6 separate regions of the Homo sapiens genome follow, and regions 1, 2, 3, 5 and 6 are each linked to region 4. Evidence: promoter capture Hi-C in 16 types of primary human blood cells and fetal thymus (Javierre and others, 2016). All regions are on one chromosome and are shown on one strand. The core of a region is centred on a gene start or on the middle of the fragment in contact, and the rest is flanking DNA. Distances in the headings are between cores, read along the strand shown. Region 1 overlaps IGFL2-AS1 (IGFL2 antisense RNA 1). Region 2 has its middle 25 kb from the start of HIF3A. Region 3 overlaps LOC93429 (a long non-coding RNA gene). Region 4 holds the start of IGFL4 (IGF like family member 4). Region 5 overlaps LOC124904728 (a long non-coding RNA gene). Region 6 has its middle 23 kb from the start of IGFL1.

Evidence for each region. The method cuts DNA at HindIII sites, captures the fragments that hold promoters and counts their contacts. A CHiCAGO score of 5 or more calls a contact.
Region 1: a contact is called between a fragment that was not itself captured here and the fragment with the promoter of IGFL4 in region 4, in 5 of 17 cell types (M0 macrophages, megakaryocytes, endothelial precursors and 2 more). The highest score is 8.4, in M0 macrophages.
Region 2: a contact is called between a fragment that was not itself captured here and the fragment with the promoter of IGFL4 in region 4, in 9 of 17 cell types (M0 macrophages, M1 macrophages, megakaryocytes and 6 more). The highest score is 10.6, in M0 macrophages.
Region 3: a fragment that was not itself captured here is called in contact with the fragment with the promoter of IGFL4 in region 4 in 3 of 17 cell types (M1 macrophages, M0 macrophages and M2 macrophages); the score reaches 7.3 in M1 macrophages.
Region 5: a contact is called between a fragment that was not itself captured here and the fragment with the promoter of IGFL4 in region 4, in 6 of 17 cell types (M1 macrophages, M2 macrophages, megakaryocytes and 3 more). The highest score is 9.4, in M1 macrophages.
Region 6: a fragment that was not itself captured here is called in contact with the fragment with the promoter of IGFL4 in region 4 in 9 of 17 cell types (M0 macrophages, M2 macrophages, M1 macrophages and 6 more); the score reaches 10.9 in M0 macrophages.

The regions. Positions count from the first base shown.
Region 1 is chr19:46,188,744-46,192,246 of GRCh38, forward strand. IGFL2-AS1 (IGFL2 antisense RNA 1) reads right to left here. Exons shown (of 3, transcript NR_135234.1): 3 at 286-1,671. It also overlaps a transcript of IGFL2 not described here. Among named protein-coding and RNA genes, the nearest start is that of IGFL2-AS1, 13 kb to the right of the region's middle. RefSeq lists an enhancer at 1,289-1,583. The HindIII fragment of the contact is 7,561 bases long and covers 1-3,503 here.
Region 2 is chr19:46,270,010-46,273,699 of GRCh38, forward strand. No RefSeq gene overlaps it. Among named protein-coding and RNA genes, the nearest start is that of HIF3A, 25 kb to the right of the region's middle. RefSeq lists an enhancer at 1,191-1,904. The HindIII fragment of the contact is 6,624 bases long and covers 1-3,690 here.
Region 3 is chr19:46,211,966-46,215,626 of GRCh38, forward strand. LOC93429 (a long non-coding RNA gene) reads left to right here. Exons shown (of 6, transcript NR_027003.1): 3 at 151-269; 4 at 825-1,045; 5 at 1,364-1,518; 6 at 1,832-2,873. It also overlaps a transcript of IGFL2 not described here. Among named protein-coding and RNA genes, the nearest start is that of IGFL2-AS1, 11 kb to the left of the region's middle. RefSeq lists an enhancer at 1-300. The HindIII fragment of the contact is 6,207 bases long and covers 1-3,661 here.
Region 4 is chr19:46,039,489-46,043,149 of GRCh38, forward strand. It overlaps IGFL4 (IGF like family member 4), which reads right to left and starts at 1,514. Exons shown (of 4, transcript NM_001002923.3): 1 at 1,456-1,514; 2 at 1,030-1,080; 3 at 669-928; 4 at 1-448. The coding sequence starts at 1,474. The coding sequence ends at 404. The HindIII fragment of the contact is 377 bases long and covers 1,274-1,650 here.
Region 5 is chr19:46,232,754-46,236,586 of GRCh38, forward strand. It overlaps LOC124904728 (a long non-coding RNA gene), which reads right to left. Exons shown (of 2, transcript XR_007067273.1): 2 at 3,054-3,151. Among named protein-coding and RNA genes, the nearest start is that of IGFL1, 4.9 kb to the left of the region's middle. The HindIII fragment of the contact is 4,669 bases long and covers 1-3,775 here.
Region 6 is chr19:46,250,622-46,254,322 of GRCh38, forward strand. No RefSeq gene overlaps it. Among named protein-coding and RNA genes, the nearest start is that of IGFL1, 23 kb to the left of the region's middle. The HindIII fragment of the contact is 4,818 bases long and covers 1-3,701 here.

The DNA.
Region 1 (3,503 bases), core at 717-3,216, 150 kb after region 4:
TCCTTGTTTGTCCTCTGATGCCCACATATTTCCTACCCTTGCCTGACAGCTCATTTGCCTCCCAGCATATGGCCAGAGGCACACCTTTAGCAACTCGGACAGAGCCCCCATTCATCCTGGGGCAGGTGGCCAGCTCTTTGTGGGAGCATGGCAGGCAACTGCGAAGTCTTCCACAGTGGGATAGAGAGTCCTGGGATGTAGGGACCAGCCCTACAGGGTCTGTGGGTTTTTCTCCCCATGTGCGGAGACGAGAGATCATAGAAATAAAGACACAAGACCAAGAGATAAAAGAAAAAACAGCTGGGCCCGGGGAACCACTACCACCAAGACACAGTGACCAGTAGTGGCCCCGAATGCCAGGCTGCGCTGTTATTTATTGGATACAAGACAAGGGGGCAGGGTGAGCAGTGTGAGCCATCTCCAATGATAGGTAAGGTCATGTGGGTCATGTATCCACTGGACAGGCGGCCCTTCCCTGTTTGGCAGCTGAGGTGGAGAGAAAGGAGACAGCTTATGCCTTTATTTTTGCATTTCAGAGACTTTTAGTACTTTCACTAATTCTGCTACTACCTAGAAGGCAGAGCCAGGTGTACAGGATGGAACATGTAAGCGGACCAGGAGCGTGACTGCTCTGAAGCACAGCATCACAGGGAGACAGGCCTCTGGATAACTGCGGGCAGGCCTGACGGATGTCAGGCCCTCCACAAGAGGTGGTGGAGCAGAGTCTTCTCTAACTCCCCCGGGGAAAGGGACACTCCTTTTCCCAGTCTGCTAAGTAGTGGGTGCTTTTCCTGGGCACTGACGCTACCGCTAGACCAAAGTCGGCTAGGTAACGGGCATCTTCCCGGGCACTGGCATTAACGCTAGACTAAGGAGCCCTCTAGTGGCCCTGTCGGGGCATAATAGAAGGCTCACACTCTTGTCTTCTGGTCATTTCTCACTGTGTCCGTTCAGCTCCTATCTCTGTATGGCCTGGTTTCTCTTAAGTTATAATTGTAGAGAGAAGATTATTATTATAATGGAATAAAGAGTAATTGCTACAGACTAATGATTAGTAATATTCATATATAATCATATCTACGATCTATATCTAGTATAACTATTCTTATTTTATATGTTTTCTTTATTATACTGGAACAGCTTGTGCCCTCGGTCTCTTGCCTCGGCACCTGGGTGGCTTGCTGCCCACACTGGGAAATGTGTAAGTAACACGTCCTGGGTTGACAGGGTAGAATCTGAGTAATAAATTTGTGAATGAGCCCTTGGGGCTGAAATCAGGAACTCTGCAGGGACCCCAAAGCCCAGAACCCAATATTAAACACGGTGTTATGTGTCAGTTTGCTGGTGCTGCAGAATCAACGACCTCTACATTCAGTGTCATGGAACAACCACATCATGATTGCTCCTGAGTCCATAGGTCATCTCGTGATTCTGTTGATCTGGGCCAGGCTCAGTTGACCTTGATGGGGGGGTTGCTCACATGTCTGTGCTCAGCAGGTAGATAGACTGGATTCTGGTTCATCTACAAAGAACTCATTCACCTGTCCTCAGTTGTCTGGAAATAGGCTTTTCTGGGATGTCCTCAGCTGGGACATCAGGGCTCTGTCTCCTCCATGTGGTCTCTCACCCTCCAACAGGCTGGCCAGAGGGTGTTCACATTGCTTTAATTTCCTGAGAAAGTGGAAGTACCAGAGTCCTTGAGCAAAGTCTTAACTCAAAACTGGCACATGATCGATCACTCCACAGTGTCCTATAGACCACAAATTCCACAGGGTGCAGACAGTCAAGGGAATGGGGACATGGATACCAAATCTTAATAGACGTAAAGTCATATTTTGCAAGTGTGTGAATGAGGAAGGAGAGATAATCAGGACTGTATCTGCAGCCTACCACAGACCCTCCCAGCCCTCTTTGCCAAGGCTGAGGATATTTATCACGCCCCCTGGTAATCCCCCAACCCTCTCCTGTGGGGCAAAGAGCCTTGCATCATTCCTTCCCCCATGGGGGGTGGGGGTTGACTTTGAAGAGACCAAAAATGCATGTGGCTTTAGGGTATTCTGCAAAATCACGGACCTGGATCTTTTTACCATCAAAAAGAAAAATTCAGAAAAGACAATCCCTGAGACTCTGGCCCTCGCCCTCAGAAGAAGGGTTGACTATTCGGGAGTCCCGCTGAGTCATCTGTGGTGCTAGGAACACCAGGAATGATTGAGCCTCCAGTCCAAGCTCCATCTCCCCTCAGGCCCCTCAGTATGCACCATCCCCACAATGCCAGCATTTCTCAATGGACTGGACCTCAAAGTGGGGGAGAAGCAGGTATGTTTTTCTGAGGCATGTCAAGAAAGACTTCATTCTAGATATGTTAGAGATATCTCACCTTCCTTTCTAAATTTAACAAAAAAGTTATTAAATATAGAATTAATAAAGGAAAAATCATACTTCTAGTATAATTTCAAGAGCCCACAGAAAACAGATACTACAAAACTCAGCCCAGAAAGGGAAGACGCAGGGCCATAATGGGAGGGAGAGGAGAAAAGAGACTGATTTGGGGTTGGGAGGCCGATGTAGACTCCAGGGTATGCCTCACTGGAAGGAATGCTATTCCTCACTGAATTTTCCCTCCCAGGGCGGGGTGAGGGTCAGATTCAAGTTTGGCCTCAACCTGAGCTGGGCTAAAGAGAAGATCAGGAAGTGAGGATGAGGATGAAGGAAGGTGGACAGGACTAGGTGGTGGTGGGAACAAGTAAACGTTGCCAGAGTGGATAGGTGCATCCTGGGAAAGAAAGCTCTGAGCTCTGAGGTGTGTCTTTATGTCATACTTTGGATTGAGTTCTCAATCTCACCACCTGCAAGGAACAGGGAGGGCAAGAGACATGAGGGCCCTTTTCTCTCTCCTTTTTTTCTCCAAAAGAAAGCATGTTTTTGGAGAGCCGCAGGTCATCACAGACTCAGGGGCCTTGTGAAATTATGCTGGGAAGCAGAAATGAGCAAACCGGCTTCTCATGTTTGTTACTTTGTCTCACAGTGACCACCATAATTTCATTAAATATTAGCTCTCTTCTCCCCCCATCATTTGATTACTCTTTTTGTAAAATATGGGATTTTTACATAGTTTGACTAAAAGTATCTGATTTTCTTTTGTAATCTTATTTACTATTTTATTTGTAATCATTGAATTTTTGATTCATACTTTTCTTCTTGGCATAGCTTGTTTTCCATTATTTTATACATGTGAGAGGTGTTCTTTTAAAACTTCATCAGCACAGCAATAAAGTGAAAACCAAAGCTCCTTTTCCACTCTAAGCCCTTGTCTTTCTCCTTGGAGTGATTCACTGTCCTCTCTGGTGAGAACTCAGGGTTCCAAACGTGCCTAGAAGAGCACACCCACAGGGACACAACAGTGGGCAGCAGGGGCTGGGGTGCAGGTGCCCTGTGGCTAGCGCTCCCAGGTCAAACCCTGACCTTGCCCCACTGACTGTGACTGTGGGTGAGTTATGAAGCCA
Region 2 (3,690 bases), core at 94-2,593, 230 kb after region 4:
ATGAGACAGGAGGATCACTTGAGCTCAGGAGTTGGGGACCAGCCTGGGCAACAGAGGGAGACCCAATCTCTATTTTAAAAAAAAATTTTTTTTTAATAAATTAGCCAGGAATGATGGCATGCACATGTGGTCCCAGCTACTTGGGAGGCTGAGGTGCGAGGATCGCTTGGGCCTGGGAGTTCCAAGTTTCAGTGAGCCATGATCACGCCACTGCTCAGCAGTCTGGGTGGCAGAAAGAGATCCTGTCTCCAAAAACAACAACAACAAGATAAAACAACAAGAAAACATTTACCAGTTTTGTACCCAAGCGAGTTAGAGAAACGCTACACTTGGAGACAAATTCAGGAATCCTTTATTAGCTGGCGACCGAGAGACGGCTAACGCTCGAAATTCTCTCGGCCCCGAAGAAGGGGCTTGATTTTCTTTTATACGTTGGTTTAGAGAGGGGAGGGGGGGAATCTAGCTGTAACAATCTTTCAGAAGTAAAACAGATAAAAAATTAAAAAGACAAATGGTTACAGGAGAACAAAGTATTCCAGGTGCAGGGGCTTTAAATTCATCATAAGGTGATAGGCGTGAGGGCTCTGCCGGACACAAACACGGGGGCTTTATGGCACTATCTCCTGAGCGAATTCCTGGGAACTACGGACATTGATTGCCACAGTACCTTATCAGTTAATTGGACTCTCTGATATGCTGAGAGTCAGCTTACACGAGTTAACTCCTTGAGGAAGGGGGTCGGTAAGGAGTCCTGGATGTCTTGCAAATGAAGGAGCCAAATGGAGTCCGTCCGGTTTTCTCAGCTAAGGGAGAGTCTATTCATATTAAAACAAGGTTAGGTATTACACCAGGACAACAGCAATAACATGAAAGCATTCTTTTATTGAATAAATACTATTCAAGTTCTGTATTTCCATGGATTAGTTAATTAAATCACAAAATCACCTTAAGATGTCAGTCTCGTAAGAAAACTATGGCTCAGGGAGAGAGACAGAAAGAGATTTTCTAAGTGCTGTATGGCAGTGTGAGGAGTTTATCTCTGCAGGGCTTTGGCAACAAATGGAAACTGGTTCTGTTCGGAGATGGGCAACCACGGATGTACGCTGCTCAGATCTTCCTGTAAGAAAGGAAGCCCACTGGCCGGGCGCAGTGGCTCACGCCTGCCTGTTATCCCAGCACTTTGGGAGGCCAAGGTGGTCAGACCACAAGGTCAGGAGATCGAAACCATCCTGGCCAACATGGTGAAACCCCCTCTCTACTAAAAATACAAAAAATCAGCCGGGTGTGGTGTCACGCGCCTGTAGTCCCAGCTACTCGGGAGGCTGAGGCAACAGAATCGCTTGAACCCAGGAGGCAGAGGTTGCAGTGAGCTGAGATCGCACCATTGCACTCCAGCCTGGGGGACAGAGCAGGACTCCATCTCAAAAAAAAAAAAAAAAAAGAAAGAAAGAAAGAAAGGAAGCCCACTGTATGAGTCTGTTCTCACACGCTATAAAGATACTACCTGAGGCTGGGTAATTTATAAACGAAAGAGGTTTTAATTGACTGACAGTTCTGCATGGCTGGGAGGCCTCAGGAAACTTACAATCGTGACGAAAGATGAAGTGGGAAGCAAGGCACATCTTACTTACGTGGTGGCAGGAGAGAGTGAGGAGGGGAAACTCCCAGACACTGATGAAACAACCAGATCTCATCAGAACTCACTCACTGTCATGAGAACAGCATGGGGGAAACTGCCCCCTTGATCCAGTCCCCTCCCACCAGGTCCCTCCCTCCTCACCTGGAGATTACAATTCAAGATGAGATTTGGGTGAGGGGACAGAGCCAAACCATGTCACCCACGGGTCAGCCACAGAGCATAGTTAGCTTTACTTTAGCTGTAATGCCTTCAGGATCTGTCATAGCCTGGGAGACCAGATCGTGCACTTCCTGGCCAATGACCTGGACATTTCTTCCAAACGCAGGACTCCTCAAGTGGAAAATCTTTGTTGTGAAGCACCCTTTGAGGTTTGCCAAGATTTTCTTTCAGCTCTGAATCATAGTCTGAGTATTTTTCTGCCCACCTCAGCTTCTCTCTGTCAAGCAAAACTGACATATCTGGAAAGTAAGAAAATAAACCAGGCCACATGCAGTGGCCCATGCCTGTAATCTCAGCACTTTGGAAGGCCAAGGCCAGAGGATCATTTGAGTCCCAGGGTTTGAGACGACCCTGGGCAACACAGGAAGACCCTATCTCTACAAAAAATGTTAAAAGTTAACCAGGCGTGGTCAAGTGTGCCTGTGGTCCCAGCTGCTTGGGAGGCTGAGGTGGGAGGATCGCTTGAGCCTGGGAGTTGAGGACCAGCCCAGCCTGGGAAACAGCGAGACCCTGTCTCCACAACAAACAAAATAAGTTGGGTGTAGTGGCACACACCTGTAGTCTCAGCTACTTGGGAGGCTGAGGTTGGAGAATCGCTTGAGCCTGGGAGATCAAGGCTGCATAGAGCCAAGATTGCACCACTGAGCTCCAACCTGGGTGACAGAGCAAGACCCTGTCTCAAAAAAAAAGAAGAGGAAGAGGAAGAAGAGAGAAAGAAAGAAAGAAGGAAAGAAAGAAAGAGAGAAAGAGAGAAGGAGAGGGGAGGGGAGGGGAGGGAGAAGAAGAAAGTTCCCTCATCTATCAAGAAACTGGACCTGCCAAAGAGTAACACAGTTGCCTTCCCTGAAATTTCCTTAACCCTAGAAGATTAAAATTCACATCACAAGGCCGGGTGCGGTGGCTCATGCTGGTAATCCCACACTTTGGAAGGCCGAGGTGGGTGGATCGCCTGAGGTCAGGAGTTCAAGACTAGCCTGGCCAACATGGTGAAACCCCGTGTCTACTAAAAATACAAAAATTAGCCAGGCGTGGTGGCATGCGCCTGTAGTCCCAGCTACTCGGGAGGCTGAGGCAGGAGAATCACTTGAACCCAGGAGGCGGAGGCTGCAGTGAGCTGAGATCGCACTGGAGATTGGACTCCAGCTTTGGCAACAAGAACAAAACTCTGTCTCAAAAAAAAAAAAAAGAGAAAGAAAAACTTACATCACAGAGAAAAAGGCTGAAAATAAAACACCACAACTGAAAGCCAGGCAAACTGCATCCCAAACCACTGTCTGCTCTCCATCTTATTCAACTGGCAAAGAAAATTATTTACTAACTTTCACTCGCATCCGTGTGAAGACACCACCAAACAGGCTTTGTGTGAGCAACAAGGCTGTTTATTTCACCTGGGTGCAGGCGGGCTGAGTCTGAAAAGAGAGTCAGCGAATGCAGATAGGAGTGGGGCTGTTTTATAAGATTTGGGTATGTAAAGGAAAATTACAGTCAAAGGGGGAGGTTGTTCTCTGGCTGGCAGGAGTTGGGGGTCACAAGGTGCTCAATAGGGGAGCTTTTGAGCCAGGATGAGCCAGGAGAAGGAGTTTCACAAGATAATGTCATCAGTTAAGGCAGGAACAGGCCATTTTCATTTCTTTTGTGGTGGAATGTCATCAGTTAAGGCAGGAACCGGCCATCTGGATGTGTACGTGCAGGTCACAGGGGATATGATGGCTTAGCTTGGGCTCAGAGGCATGACATTTCTGTCTTCTTATATTAATAAGAAAAATAAAACGAAATAGGGTTGAAGTGTTGGGGCAGTGAAAATTTTGGGGGGTGGTATGGAGAGATAATGG
Region 3 (3,661 bases), core at 824-3,323, 170 kb after region 4:
GTGGAATACACACAGTTCCAATAAGAGTGTCATAAACAATCTAGCACAGCATTCTGGTTAGGGCACACTGTCCCATTTCTTAATCCATTTTTTTTTTCAATTAAAAAATAACATTGCTTATGCCCAACTGATGGTTTTCCATGTTATCAGCACGTCCTAATCTGTGTCCTGGAAAACAACACTCTACCCCACAGCAACAAGGCATGGAGGCCAATGGAGAAGACAGGGAGATGGTGCTGGAAGCAGGGTCTGCTCTTCCCCTGGGGAAGGTGCGTGCTGAGCACTCTGGTATTTATCATGAGATCATTTCTGCTGCAGCCTCTTCCCTTGTCGCCTGCCTCCAGAGAGAAGCCCCTGTCCATGCTCCCCAGAAAGATACAGGATCTTCCACACACACAGATCTGACCACATACATCCCCTGCTGGGAATAACCCTGGGGAGAATGGCTTGTCCATACCAGGTGTGGCCTGTGAACTCACAAACTGAGGAAATCCTGCAGAAGCTGGGAGGGGCCCACAGAACTGACCCAAGACAGCTTCTTCCCCTCTGTTTTTTCGTCCTGACCCCAAGATGGCTCTTCTGTGGGGAAATCACACACCCGACCCTCTGAAAAAGCACGTTAAGGAAAAATGTCCTTGAAAATCTCAGGAGGGCTGTGGAATTTCTCCACCACCAGAACTTCACAGTGACAATGACACCAAACACAAGAACGACAATAACCAAAATCAGGAGTTTTATTCTCCTACCTTCTCTCTCTCTCTCTCTCTCTCTCCTCTCACTGTCATGAACGTCACGAAGACACTGACTTTGCATTTTCTACTCAGCACTGCATCACCAGTGTCTGACACAAAGCCTGGGACATGTGGGCTTCCAAGTGGACCTCTCCTGGATAAATGACCATTAATGAAACAGAGAAGGAGTTGAAGAGCCCCCAGAGGAGTGTGAGTCCCAGGGGTCCCGCCAGCTCCACTCCCACCTTCCAAACCTGTGAAAGTCAGGTGCCTGAGTCGCACAGTCTCTCCCACCCGAATGCCATGAGCTGCAGGTGAGTGAGCAGTTACTGCATCCTGGGCCATGGGCTTGGGTTGTGAAGTTAGGACCTGATTAGAGGATGTCAGGGGTTAGCAATGTACCAAGGAAAGTGGAGAAAGTCATAGCTCAATGGGATCCTGTGGAATCACTGTGTGGCTGTGTGAGTGGGGGAGGGCGGTAACTATAGGAGCATGCTGCACCTTCCTGTTTGCCAAAGAGGGGGCATGTAGGACACAGAAGCGGAGGGTGCACCACTTCTCCCTGGGTTCTCAAAGTGTCTGAGATCAAATCTACTATGACACATACCCTGCCTGGCTCCTTTACTGCCCAGCGACCCAGCCTGTCTCTGCAGGAGGGCCAGACATGCCGTGACATCACCAGCTCCTCTAGGAATATGGGATACAAGGAGTGGCTGAGATCGGCTGATCACCAGCTCACTCCGCTGCAGCCGCCCCAGAGCAATGGCTCCCCGAAGCCGTGTTCTGGGTAAGGAGGGGAGGACCCCATTCCCAACCGAACCCATCTCCCATCTCAGCCACCACCAGGGCTCGCTCCCCACCCCAAACTCCCTGTTCCCTCATTCTTGTTCCCATGCCCAGCCAAATCTCCAGGCGTGAATTGCTCACAGCAATTCCCCATCCACAGCGCCCGGGTCAGCCCCATCCACAGCCCTGTTTCAGTTTCTGAACTGCCCAAAGCCATACCGAGCCCTGGTTCCACCCAATCTTCTTCTAAATGTCAGTGCCAGTCGTATCTGTGGCTGTCCACTCACCCCATCTTCCCCTTCCCTCTCCCACAGCTGTCTTGGCCGCTTTCTGTTTGTGACTCTCCCTGCCTCCACTCCCCCCACCACCCCATGAAATGATCTCATTTGGTCATTTAAACGGAAAACTAAAAAGTTTTAAGTGACTCTAGGAGAGCAGGAGAGAGGCAGGTCTCCCAGCTCAGACCCCGCCCCGGGACGGCCCCACGGAAGATGCACATCTGGATGTAGGCGCTCAAGGCACCGCGCGTGCGCCGAGTGGCCTTGCTCAGCTCCGTCCTTCTGAAACCCGGAATCCTCATGTGTCTGGGTCCCGCCCCATCCTGGCCTCCTACACCACTGGTCCAGATCCTCCACCTTCCCCCAACGCGAGGTATTGACATCAAAGCATCACCTCATCTGGCACAAGAATCTGAAACACAGACCGCACCTTACACCAACGTAGTGAATCCCTCCTTGGACCTGAGTTCAACAAGCCCAGAGTCGGGGCTCTGGGTTCCCGCCCAAATGCCACGCATGCACACAGATGGCACCTGGCGTCTCCTCAAAGGGACAGGAATCCCGGGCTTCCCAGAATCACCAGGTCGATTTAAATGGCATCAGATGAACTGGAAAAGAATGAAAGTGCTATTGCCTAAAGTGATGAAATTTTCAGAGGATGTATCGGTCCTGTCTGGTGGACAGACGGCCACCAGAGGGAATGAACCAGTCTTCTCTGAACATCCATGAGGATGAAGAACAGTCACTGAGGTGACGGTACCAAGTCACCGGCCACCTCCCAGGGATCCTCTCATCCGGTCCTCACAGCAGCGCTGCATGGTCGGACCTCATCACCCACATTCCACCAAGAGGAAGCTGAAGCCCAGGGCCTTCATCCACTCATGTCCTCCAGACCCCTGGCACCCATCCTGGGCCCCACCCCATCATCCAGGCCTTGGGCCTTCGACCTGGGGAGAGTCCCTGTCTCCTCCATGAGCCGTCCAGGGCCTGAAGAGGTATCCAATAAACAAGAAAGCAGAACACAAAGAGCTGTGATGGAGTGGATCTTATGTAGTAAGAATAAAATTATTTTGAGAAATTACTGGGTCATGTATTTACCCACAGAAAAACAGAAGCAAACACACGCGTGCGCGCACACACACACACACACACCACACAGGCTGTCACGTGTCCTCAGCACAAAGTGCCTTGAGAAAGGCCATTGCTGGCCCCACACTTATCCTGACTGTGATCTTGCTGTGATCAGCACATCCCATCAGTGTGGCAACAGGTGTGGCCAGAGTGGGAACCAGGCCTTTTCTTCAGATTTGCTCTTTGTTCCTGAATAGCCACCGTCAGAACAGACACCCTCCTAGGAGTCACTTGATTAAAAATTTCCTTTTGGATATTTAGGTTGATGTTTTATCCATCGGTTAAAGTATAAATGTATATTTATTATAAAAGTGTAATTATGGCTCTAATTAATGATTATGGTGAATTTTACTAACTATAGCTATGAAAATATTCCAATAGATAAAAACAGTGCTAAAAATGTACAGTTAATCCAAGAGTGGTAACTTTAAGTCTTGTAATTTTTGATCTAATAAATCTTCATAAAATATACATGATCATGAAGTACATCAGTAGAATTAATCCTAATATTTACAGCAATACTTGGCGTGCTGTCTCTCATAAAAAATAACATTAATAGTAAAAAAAAAAAGAAGAAATCGGCCAGGCACGGTGGCTCACGCCTGTAATACCAGAACTTTGGGAGGCCGAGGCAGGCAGATCACAAGGTCAGGACATCGAGACCATCCTGGCTAACACGGCAAAACCCCGTCTCTACTAAAAATACAAAAAATTAGCCCAGCGTGGTGGCGGGTG
Region 4 (3,661 bases), core at 264-2,763:
GCCATTTTCACGATATTGATTCTTCCTACCCATGAGCATGGAATGTTCTTCCATTTGTTTGTATCCTCTTTTATTTCCTTGAGCAGTGGTTTGTAGTTCTCCTTGAAGAGGTCCTTCACATCCCTTGTAAGTTGGATTCCTAGGTATTTTATTCTCTGTGAAGCAATTGTGAATGGGAGTTCACTCATGATTTGGCTCTCTGTTTGTCTGTTGTTGGTGTATAAGAATGCTTGTGATTTTTGTACATTGATTTTGTATCCTGAGACTTTGCTGAAGTTGCTTATTTGCACTCCAGCCTGGGGGACAGAGTGAAACTCTGTCACAACAACAACAAAATCAATGCAGTATAATTACCAAGTATTAGATTCTAGAGTGATCTGTGACTCTGCTACCCCAGAACAGTCTAGATGAGGTCAGATCTTGACACAGGGCTTTTTGGGTGGTATTCCTGCAGAAGGAGAGAAGTGGGAGAGGGGAATAAGAGGGAGGGTGGTAGCAGCAGTGGCGGGGAAGGAACAGAGACATGGAGAAAGACAGAGTTGCATGGTTACTGAGAGATGGGAAGGTATGGAACCCAGCAGAGACTGCACATCTGGGTGGGACATGGACAACCAAGCTCCATTCCCTACTCCCCCCTCCCACAGCCTGGACTGGAGTCAGATCCTTACCTGGGCACAGATCCTGGTGATAGGGGAGGACTTGCAATCTGGCTTCATGCCTGGGACCTTGAACCTCACAACTGTCTGGTTCTGAGAGCCCAAAGACTCCAGGCAGCAGTGCTGGAAGCAGGGCCAGAAGGTGCAGCTGGAGCCGCAGAGCCGGGTCTGGTTCAAGTCTAGGATGACACCGTCATCACAGCACTGCTCCAAGGGGTTGTAGGTCCACTCCCCGCACCTGGGCGCTGGCTGGCATAGCCACAGTCTAAGATCTGGAAGAGTCGGGGCTGGATGGGCTGCAAGGACCAGCCTAGGACCACCTCCCCACCAACCTTAATGCTGTTCTCTCCTCCCTCACTGCATCTGTTCTCACCTGTGACTCCTTCTGAGTTTGAACCCAAAAGTTCAAAAATGAAGATGGCAGCTGAGAAGCAGAAGGAGAGCGAGAATGATTCTGAGGTCACTAGGTCTTGACCACGGGGCACAGGATGATGTCTCTGAGCTTCTCTGGTTGCTGTTAACAGCTCAGAGTGGATTTTGGGACTGGCTGTGGGTGCAGGTCCTGGGGACTGGGCTTGGCAGGTGAGGAAAGGCAGGGAGGGCTCTGGGAAAAGTTAAGCTTCTGGAATTTGCAGTTCAGGAGACAGATTACAATGCAGTCACAGATGACATAGCAGTGATTATGAGGTGGGACACCAATAATTAAATAGGGAAGAGAGAATTAACTTTGAAGTTCAGAAATAATTAGGGATGTGATATCATTAGGGATTAGCTTAGCCTAGGGCTGGGGTCTCCTTACCAGAAATTCTGGGCACCATGGGTTAGGCTTCAGAGCAGCGGACGAGGGAGCAGCAGTGGAAATGGGTCAGTGACTTTACATAGGGGCTTATATAGGATATGAACTTACCGCCATTTAGGGAGGTGTGCAGAAGGAGTGGTTTCTTGGGAAGAGTTAGGCAAAAAGAGCTGCAGGGAACATAAATAATTCATCAAAAGCTTAATGAGATGCTTCTGGACCTGTTCCAAGTGGTTGCTGCCTCCTCAGACCCTTCAGATCCTCAGGGTAAAGGCTACCCAGGAACCTATCTAAGCTTTGACTCTGCTGAGTGTCTTTCTTTGAACACCGCCCAAGGGAAAACCACTTGGAAGATATTCCTTAACTCTTGCTTATCTAAGATCAAATTACTCACCAAACACCGGCTGTCTCTAGGCTCCCCATATTCCTCCACCCTGAAGTTTCAAGGAGTCCCTCTACTCCCCGTCTCAGTTCACCTGCAGACCTGCACTGTCTATAATTTTTCAGAGTCACGTAGGAGAATTTGTGAAGTTGCAGCATAATCTAGAAGAACAGCAGGGGCTGCAAAACTGTGCCAGGGAGAACAACAACAACAAAAATAGGCGGTGGTAGGATGGATCTCTGGGATTCCAGATAGGAAAGCAGCACCTTTTTTTTTTTTTTGGTTTGTGGAGTGCCTTGTCCAAGAAAATGCTCCTGTGTGTCTCACTGTGTGATGGGATTACATGTGGCGTATTTTTAGAGCATGCCCCTCCATTTTCCACTGGTTTCTTCCCTGTGTCACAGTGAGAAGGGTGGGAGGGTGAAAGAAGGATAAGGCACAGGTATTAGAGCTTTGTAAAAGTGCATTGTTAGTATAGACTCTCTAGAGTCTCTTCCTCCTCCCTCCTCTCTCTCTTTTTTTTTTTTTTTTTTTGAGACACCGTATCTCTCTGTCTCCCAGGCTGGAGGGCAGTGGTGCTATCTTTGCTCACTGTAACCTTTGCCCCCCAAGTTGAAGCCATCCTCCCACCTCAGCCTCTTGAGTAGCTGGGACTACAGGCAGGCACCTCCTGGCCTGGCTAATTTTTTTGTATTTTTCATAGAGTTAGGGTCCTACAATGTTCTGGTCTTGGAATCCTGAGCTCAAGCAATCCACCTGCCCCAGCCTCCCAAAGTGCATTGATTTTGTTGTTGTTGTGCTTATTTGCACTCCAGCCTGGCCTCTCCTTTCTTGACTGGATGTCCAAGTCTTCGGTATTGATTTCATGCAATAAACTAGCTCTCCTCGCCTATTTCTGCAGTTGCGTATTTGCATAGATATGTCTGTTTGTCTGCTTATCAATATGCCTTCTCCTTTCCCACACATCCAAACAGAAATCCCACCTGTAAAGACACATTCTCTCACCTACACAGAACAGCTGCTGCGGAAACAGACCTATAAGAACTACATTCCTGTTTATCAAGTTAAGTAGTGTGAATACCGCATTATAACTCCGAGCCAGCAACCAAGAAATTTATGACCACTTGAAAGGGAAAGCTGCAATGAAGAGTACAAGTGACTAAGGAGGGAAATCCCAAAGCTGATTACTAGAATTGATCTCTGTATAATTGAACTATCTATGTAGAAAATCCCACGGAACCCACTGTCAAGCAAGAGGTGAGTCTGACAGATTCTGTTAGTGACAAAAACAAGCTCTTTTTAGATTCAGACACTTTATTACTTACACAGACAGGGAAAGAAAGAGCCACAGGTGCCAGCACCATGTCCCTTATACAGGGTGACACTGAAACAAAAGGGCCAGATGACTGAACAAGAATAATAGGATGCCTGTTGCTGAGTAGAGAATCCAGCCTGTGGCTCCATGGTATAGGGAGGTAGAAAGCCTCATCCCTCCCTAGAAGCCAGAGGCAGTGAGAAGCTGTGTCATGGCGGCCTCCCTTATCCATAGGGAAGTGAGTGACAAGTGATGCTGTAGCAGCTTCCCACAAGCCTCCCATGACCTCACGTTCTGGGAAGACCAGAGAGTGTTCTGCCATGACATACATCAGCTACAGTTAATTTCACCAACGTGGCCCACGTGGAGATGTTTGAGGTCGCCGGGGCAGTAGGGCAGAGCCATTACCGTAAACCTACCCCCAAAGCTCCGGGAACTAATAAGTAAATTTAGATGGTTGTAGAATACAAAGTCAACACACAAAAATCAATTGTATTTCTCGCTCCTGGAAT
Region 5 (3,833 bases), core at 191-2,690, 190 kb after region 4:
GCATCACAGGGCAAATGCCCTGTCTCACAGGCCTAACCCTAGCTCAGGGCCTATCAGTGGGAGCACACCCAATGCTGGGTGAGCTCTGCCTCCCCATGCTAGGATTCTGCAGGGCGTGAGAGCTGTGCTGGCGCCTAGAAAGCGACAGACCCACCCCACCCACGGGGTGGCTGCTTCCTCATCCTCCACAGTGAGCGTCCTAAACCTTCACCCTGTCCACATGTGACTCTCCTTGCCTGCACTCCCCCCACCACCCCATGAAATGATCTCATTTGGTCATTTAAGTGGAAAACTAAAAAGTTTTAAGTGACTCCGTGAGAGCAGGAGAGAGGCGGGTCTCCCAGCTCAGACCCCGCCCTGGACGCCCCCACTGAAGCCGCACAGCAGGATGTAGGTGCCCAAGGCACCTACACGCGCCGAGAGGCCTCGCTCAGCCCCGCCCTTCTTAAACCTGGAATCCTCAGGTGTCTGGGTCCTGCCCCATACAGGCCCCCTAGACCACTGGTCCAGATCCCCAACCTTCCCCCAACACGAGGTATTGACATCAAAGCATCACCTCATCTGGCACAAGAATCTGAAACACAGACCGCACCTTACACCAATGTAGTGAATCCCTCCTTGGATCTCAGTCCAACAAGCCCAGAGTCGGGGCTCTGGGTTCCCGCCCAAATGCCACGTGTGCGCACAGAAGGCACCTGACGTCCCTTCTAAGGGACAGGAATCTCAGGCATCCCAGAATCACTAGGTCTGATTTAAATAGCGTCAAATAAATTGGAAAAGAATGAAAGTGCTATAAAGTTCGGCTGAAATTTTCAGAGGTTTTATTGGTTGTATCTGGTGGAGAGAGTGGGCAAGTCTTCTCTGAACATCCATGAGGACGAAGAACAGTCACTGAGGTGACGGTACCAAGTCACCGGCCACCTCCCAGGGATCCTCTCATCCGGTCCTCACAGCAGCGCTGCATGGTCGGACCTCATCACCCACATTCCACCAAGAGGAAGCTGAAGCCCGGGGCCTTCATCCACTCATGTCCTCCAGACCCCTGGCACCCATCCTGGGCCCCACCCCATCATCCAGGCCTTGGGCCTTCGACCTGGGGAGAGTCCCTGTCTCCTCCATGAGCCGCCCTGGGCCTGAAGAGGTATCCAATAAACAAGAAAGCAGAACACAAAGAGCTGTGATGGAGTGGATCTTATGTAGTAAGAATAAACTTATTTTGAGAAATTTCTGGGTCATGTATTTACCCACAGAAAAACAGAAGCAAACACACACACACACACACGCACACACACACACACACACACCACACAGGCTGTCACGTGTCCTAAGCACAAAGTGCCTTGAGCAAGGCCATTGCTGGCCCCACACTTATCCTGACTGTGATCTTGCTGTGATCAGCACATCCCATCAGTGTGGCAACAGGTGTGGCCAGAGTGGGAACCAGGCCTTTTCTTCAGATTTGCTCTTTGTTCCTGAATAGCCACCGTCAGAACAGACACCCTCCTAGAAGTCACTTGATTAAAAATTTCCTTTTGGATATTTAGGTTGATGTTTTATCCATCGGTTAAAGTATAAATGTATATTTATTATAAAAGTGTAATTATGGCTCTAATTAATGATTATGGTGAATTTTAATAACTATAGCTATGAAAATATTCCAATAGATAAAAACAGTGCTAAAATATACAGTTAATATAAGAGTGATTACTTTAAGATAAATCTTGTAATTTTTGATCTAATAAATCTTCATAAAATATACATGATCATGAAGCACATCAATAGAATTAATCCTAATATTTATAGCAATACTTGGCGTGCTCTCTCTCATAAAAAATAACATTAATAGTAAAAAAAAAAAAAAGAAACAAAGAAATCGGCTGGGCATGGTGGCTCATGCCTGTAATCCCAGTACTTTGGGAGGCTGAGGCAGGCAGATCACGAGGTCAGGAGATCAAGACCATTCTGGCTAACATGGTGAAACCCCGTCTCTACTAAAAATACAAAAAAGGAGCCGGGTGTGGTGGCGGGCGCCTGTAGTCCCAGCTACTCAGGAGCTGAGGCAGGAGAATGGCATGAACCCAGGAGGTGGCGCTGGTAGTGAGCTGAGATCATGCCACTGTCCTCCAGCCTGGGCAACAGAGTGAGACTCCATCTCAAAAAATAATAATAATAATAATAAAGAAATGATGAAATTTAAAAATTCTATTTAATTTTGGGTTGTTTAATTTTCATTTGGGGCATGACTATGTGAAGTAATAAATTTTGTTTGGGCATTAATATGGGATGACCTATGTCTCCCGCAAAATTCATGTGTTGAAGTCCTAACCCCAGTATCTCTGAATATAACTGTATTTGGAGATAAGGTCTTTGAAAAGGCGATTACGGTAAAATGAGGTCATATGAGCAGGACCTAATCCAAGCTGACTGGTGTCCCTATAAGAAGAGGATATTAGGGCACAGACACACACACAGAGGCCATGTGAAGACACAGGGAGGAGTTGGCCATGGATAAGCCAAGAGATAGACCCTCAGAAGAAACCATCCTGCCAACACCTTGATCTCATACTTCTGGCTTCCAGAACTGTGAGGAACTGAATTTCTCCTGTTCAAGCCACCCCTCTGGTGCCCTTGATTATGGCAGTCCTGGGGGATTAACACAGGCAGAAGGAAAATGAAGGATGCAAGAGTCAGAGAAAGGAAGAAATCAAATGTACTTTCTCCTCATACAATTTTCAAAATTTCAGTTACTTTAGGAAAACACTTTTTGGGAAATTATTCTAAACTGGGTGTTTGGCGTTTTATTCTAAACTAGGTGTTTAGTGACTAGATACTTTCTTTTCTTTCATAACACATGGTATCTGATTTTCTGGGAAACTTTCTATTTGACAAGTGTGTGATCAGGGATCTCTACATGAATTCTCCACAGAAAGACTGATCTCATGGATCTAGAATTTGCAGTGGTTCTTGTGATTAGATACCTGAAGGAAATATTGCTCTTATGTGACATTAAAGAAGAAAAATATGACACTTACGGCAAGTAAAAAGACGGCGTGTGGTTCTATACGCTTGTCTGGGGCTTTTATTGTCTGCACCCTTTGGCCTTTTTGAGTTGCCAGCTTCTCCAGGTCCTCCAGCTTCTCATGAGTTGCATCTAGGATATATGAGGCAAAAAAGAAAACTCAGGGAAACTCCCTGCTCTGCCATTTCTGTGGTCCCAAGGTCCTCCCTTCGTCTGCCTTCTTACCCTACCTTTCTGAGTCTTCTTATGCTTGTTTTATAGCTGTACTGAGCAGGAGAGATATGGAAACATATGCCTACCTCGTCTTTCTGGAAGCAGAATTCCACTCCTACTGAAGGGTTTTGGTAAGAACACATTTGCCAGATCAATAATTGCCTACCAAGGATCAAACACTGTTTTGATTTGCCCCAATAAAGATACAACATCTGGCACAGCATCTGTGGTTGGGGCACAGTCTAGCTCTGGTTTTGAAAACTTACAAATACCTGCCCTTGTCTGTGATACAGTTTGGATGTTTGTCCCCTCCAACTCTCATGTTAAAATGTGATCTCCAATGTTGGAGGTGAGGCCTGGGGAGGTGTTTTGGTCATGGGAGGAGATTCCTCACAAATGGCTTGGTGCCCTCCCCATAGTAATAAGTGAGTTCTCACCCTGTTGGTTTGTGCAAGAGCTGGTAACAAGAGTCTGACATTTCTCTTGCTCCCTGTCTTGCCATGTGACATGCCTGCTCTTCCTTTGCCTTCTGCCATAATTGTAAGCTTCCTGAGGCCCTCACTAGAAGCAGATGCAGGCACCATGCTTCCTGTATACAGCT
Region 6 (3,701 bases), core at 507-3,006, 210 kb after region 4:
TGGGTTTCTGTTGCAGTAGTTTTGATTCTCTGTATCCACCTGCCTGTGTCAACAAATCTTAGGGCAGTGGTTTGCCCTGTGACCCCACTCCTCTAATGGATATAAGAAGAAGTGTTAATTGTTTCTTTGTTCAGTATTCACTTTCTGTTAAGATGGAGTGATGAGTTCCAAGTTTCTTACATGCTTGACTGGAAACTGGAAGTCCCAGAGAACATTTCTTTAGAGATGAGGTCTCACTATGTTGCCCAGGTTAGACTTGAACTCTTGGGCTCAAGTGATCCTCCCACATCAGCCTCCTGAGTATCTGGGATTATAAGCATGTGCCATAGCACCGGCTCAAAAACCTACTTTTAATAATGTTCATCCTCTGCAAGCTGAGACTTTCTTTATGACCCAACATATGTGTGGGGTTCCCAGTTTACATGATATTTACAAACACGTTGACTTTACTGGATGCTTATACGTCCTCATTTCATTGTGCTTAAAGAGGAAACTGTAGCTCAGAGAGGTTAAGTACGTTTTGAAATGCCACAACTAGTAATGGTAAACCTGGGTCCCTAAAGTCACGAGAGAGAATTATGAGAGTATGATAGGAAACTTCAAAGGTACCGAAGGCAGAAACTGCTAACAGCATTGGTCTCTGAGGAGTGCAAACGAGCAAATGAGGGGGGAGGTAAAAGGAGGGGAAGGAGATTTTTATTTTTAATTTTCAAAAACCATGTGCTGAAAGTTTTATGCTTTGCATGCATATCTCTAATAATTTAGGGTGAATTTGGGTTGGGCAAATACCCAGGAGAGTGACCAATGGCAAGACAAGACAATGAGAGAGGTAAGCGTGAGTCCTATGGGATGCATAGAGTGAGTCCTTAATTCTCTATCAGTGAGGGAAGTTGGAAGCAGGGTGGGAAGGTTGGGAGAAAGAGAAACCCTGAAGGGAACTAAGTTACTGGGAGCAGGTGCTGGTAGGTGAGTCATGCTGTGGAAGCCTGTTTGCACTGTTTCAAGGAGTGACTCTTTGGTTGGATGAAAAAGGGACGCCGTGGGTGTAGGTAGAGAAGGTGCTGGAGGGGAAGGCAGGCCCAGGTAGCAAAGGGCCTTGTGGGACAAGCTGGGAGCCTGGGTTTCATCCTAGCGGTGGTGGGGAGTCGTTCAATAATTTTTTTGGTTTTTTCTTTTCTTTTCTTTTCTTTTTTTTTTTTTTGAGACAGAGTTTTGCTCTTGTTGCCCAGGCTGGAGTGCAATGGCGCCATCTCGGCTTATCACAACCTCTGCCTCCAAGGCTCAAGCAATTCTCCTGCGTCAGTCTCCCAAGTAGCCGGGATTACAGACATGCACCACCACACCCAGCTAATTTTTTTTAATTTTTATTTTTTGTATTTTTAGTAGAGATGGAGTTTCTCCATGTTGATCAGGCTGGTCTTGAACTCCCAACCTCAGGTGATCCACCCTCCTTCGGCCTCCCAAAGTGCTGGGATTACAGGTGTGAGCCACCGCGACTGGCCATCACTCAATAATTTTAAGCAGTGAAACTCATGACCAGATTTGCATTCTTCTAAAACCAGGCCCCACTCTGTGATCCTGGCGTGTCTTCCCAGACACCCGGGACTATCACAGTCACCACTGCAGCAGGGCAGCGTTTTCCAGCACACTATTATCACCTTGCTCATGTGTTTATTTACTTTGCAAAAATATTGGTTTGTTAGTGTCAGAGACAATTCCCCATGGATCTCTTGCTTTTTTGCTGGCCTGGCAGTGAGGCATTGACTGTCCTTTTGTTCCACACTCTTTTCAAGGATGTTTGTGTAGTGTACTGCCTTGGAAGACAGAGGTAAGGTTTCCCTTTAGAGCAAAGAATACTTGTTTACTGTCCTGTATAAAAATAATACTCTCTTCCTCCAGGTCATTTAGGCTCTGATAAAACCCTAATAATTTAGATTCTGGTAAAATGCTTTCTCTTAATGGCAGAGCTTGTTAAGAAGAACAGAATACTCTGGTGTGTTTCACAGCGGTTACTTTCCCCCTTCCCACTTCATGCCAGACCATGAAGGAGATTTTTCTCCCATATTCACTGTGAGAACCTGATAGGGTTCCTGGAGGTAAAACTCTTAGAAAAATGCAGAGGCTCCCCTTAGACTGGGCCCCCTGGAGTTTTTAATTCTCAGACTGCTCCGCCGTGAGCCTCCAGGAATTCATTCATTAGACTTCATGTTTTCCTGTCCTGGTACTGGTTCCCACAGGGGTTTCTGGTCATGGGTTTCTGTTGCAGTAGTTTTGATTCTCTGTATCCACCTGCCTGTCTCTCGAAATCTTAAGGGCAGTGGTTTGCTCTGTGATCCCACTCCTCTAATGGATGTAAGAATTGTTAATTTTCTCTTTGTTCAGTATTCACTTTCTGTTAAGATGCAGTGATGAGTTCCAAGCCTCTTACATGCTTGACTGGAAGCTGGGAGTCCCAGAGAACATTTCTTTAGAGATGAGGTATCACTATGTTGCCCAGGTTAGACTTGAACTCTCAGGCTCAAGTGATCCTCCCACATCAGCCTCCTGAGTATCTGGGATTATAGGCATCTGCCATAGCACCCAGCTCAAAAACCTACTTTTAATAATAATCATCCTTTGGAAGCTGAGACTTTCTTTATGACCCATCATATGATCAATTTAGCATAAATGTTTAACATAGACTTGAAAAAAATGTATGTTCTACCACTGATGAGAGAGAGATATTTATATATTTGCATATATAAAATTAGGCCAGGTGTGTTGGCTCACACCTGTAATCCCAGCACTTTGGGAGTCCGAGGTGGGCAGATCACCTGAGGTCAGGTGTTCAAGACCAGCCTGGCCAATATGGTGAAACCCAGTCTTTACTAAAAATACAAAAATTAGCTGGGTGTGGTGGTGGGCACCTGTAATCCCAGATGCTCGGGAGGCTGAGGCAGAAGAATCACTTGAACCTGGAAGGCAGAGGCTGCAGTGAGCTGAGACGGTGCCACTGCACTCCGGCCTGGGATATTGAGCGAGACTTCAACTTAAAAAAAAAAAAAATTTCTTGCATTTCTATACACTAACAATGAACAAGCCAAAAAGGAAATTAAGAAAACTACCTCATTTATAATACCATCAAAAAGAATAAAGTGCTTCAGGCCAGGCATGGTGGCTCACGCCTGTAATCCCAGCACTTTGGCAGGCTGAGGCAGGTGGATCACTTGAGGTCAGGAGTTCAAGACCAGCCTGGTCAACATGGTGAAACCCCGTCTCTACTAAAAATATGAAAATTAGCCGGGCATGGTGACGCTCGCCTGTAATCCTAGCTACTCCAGAGGCTGAGGCAAGAGAATTGCTTGAACCCAGGAGGGGGAGGTTACAGTGTGCCAAGATCATGCCACTGCACTCCAGCCTGGGCCACAGAGCAAGACTCTGTCTCAAAAAATAAAAATAAAAAAAGAATAAAATAATTCAGAATAAACTTAACCAAGAGAGCAAATGACTTGTATAGTGCAAACTACAAAACATTGTTGAAAAAAAGTAATGAAGACACAAATAAATGGAAAGACAGTCTGTGTTCATGGGTTGGAAGATTTAATATTGTAACAATGTCCATACTACCCAAAGTGATCTACAGCTTCAAAGCAATCTCTATCAAAATCTCAATGACAATTTTGCAGAAGCAGAAAAAATCCTAAAATTCGCATGGACTCTTA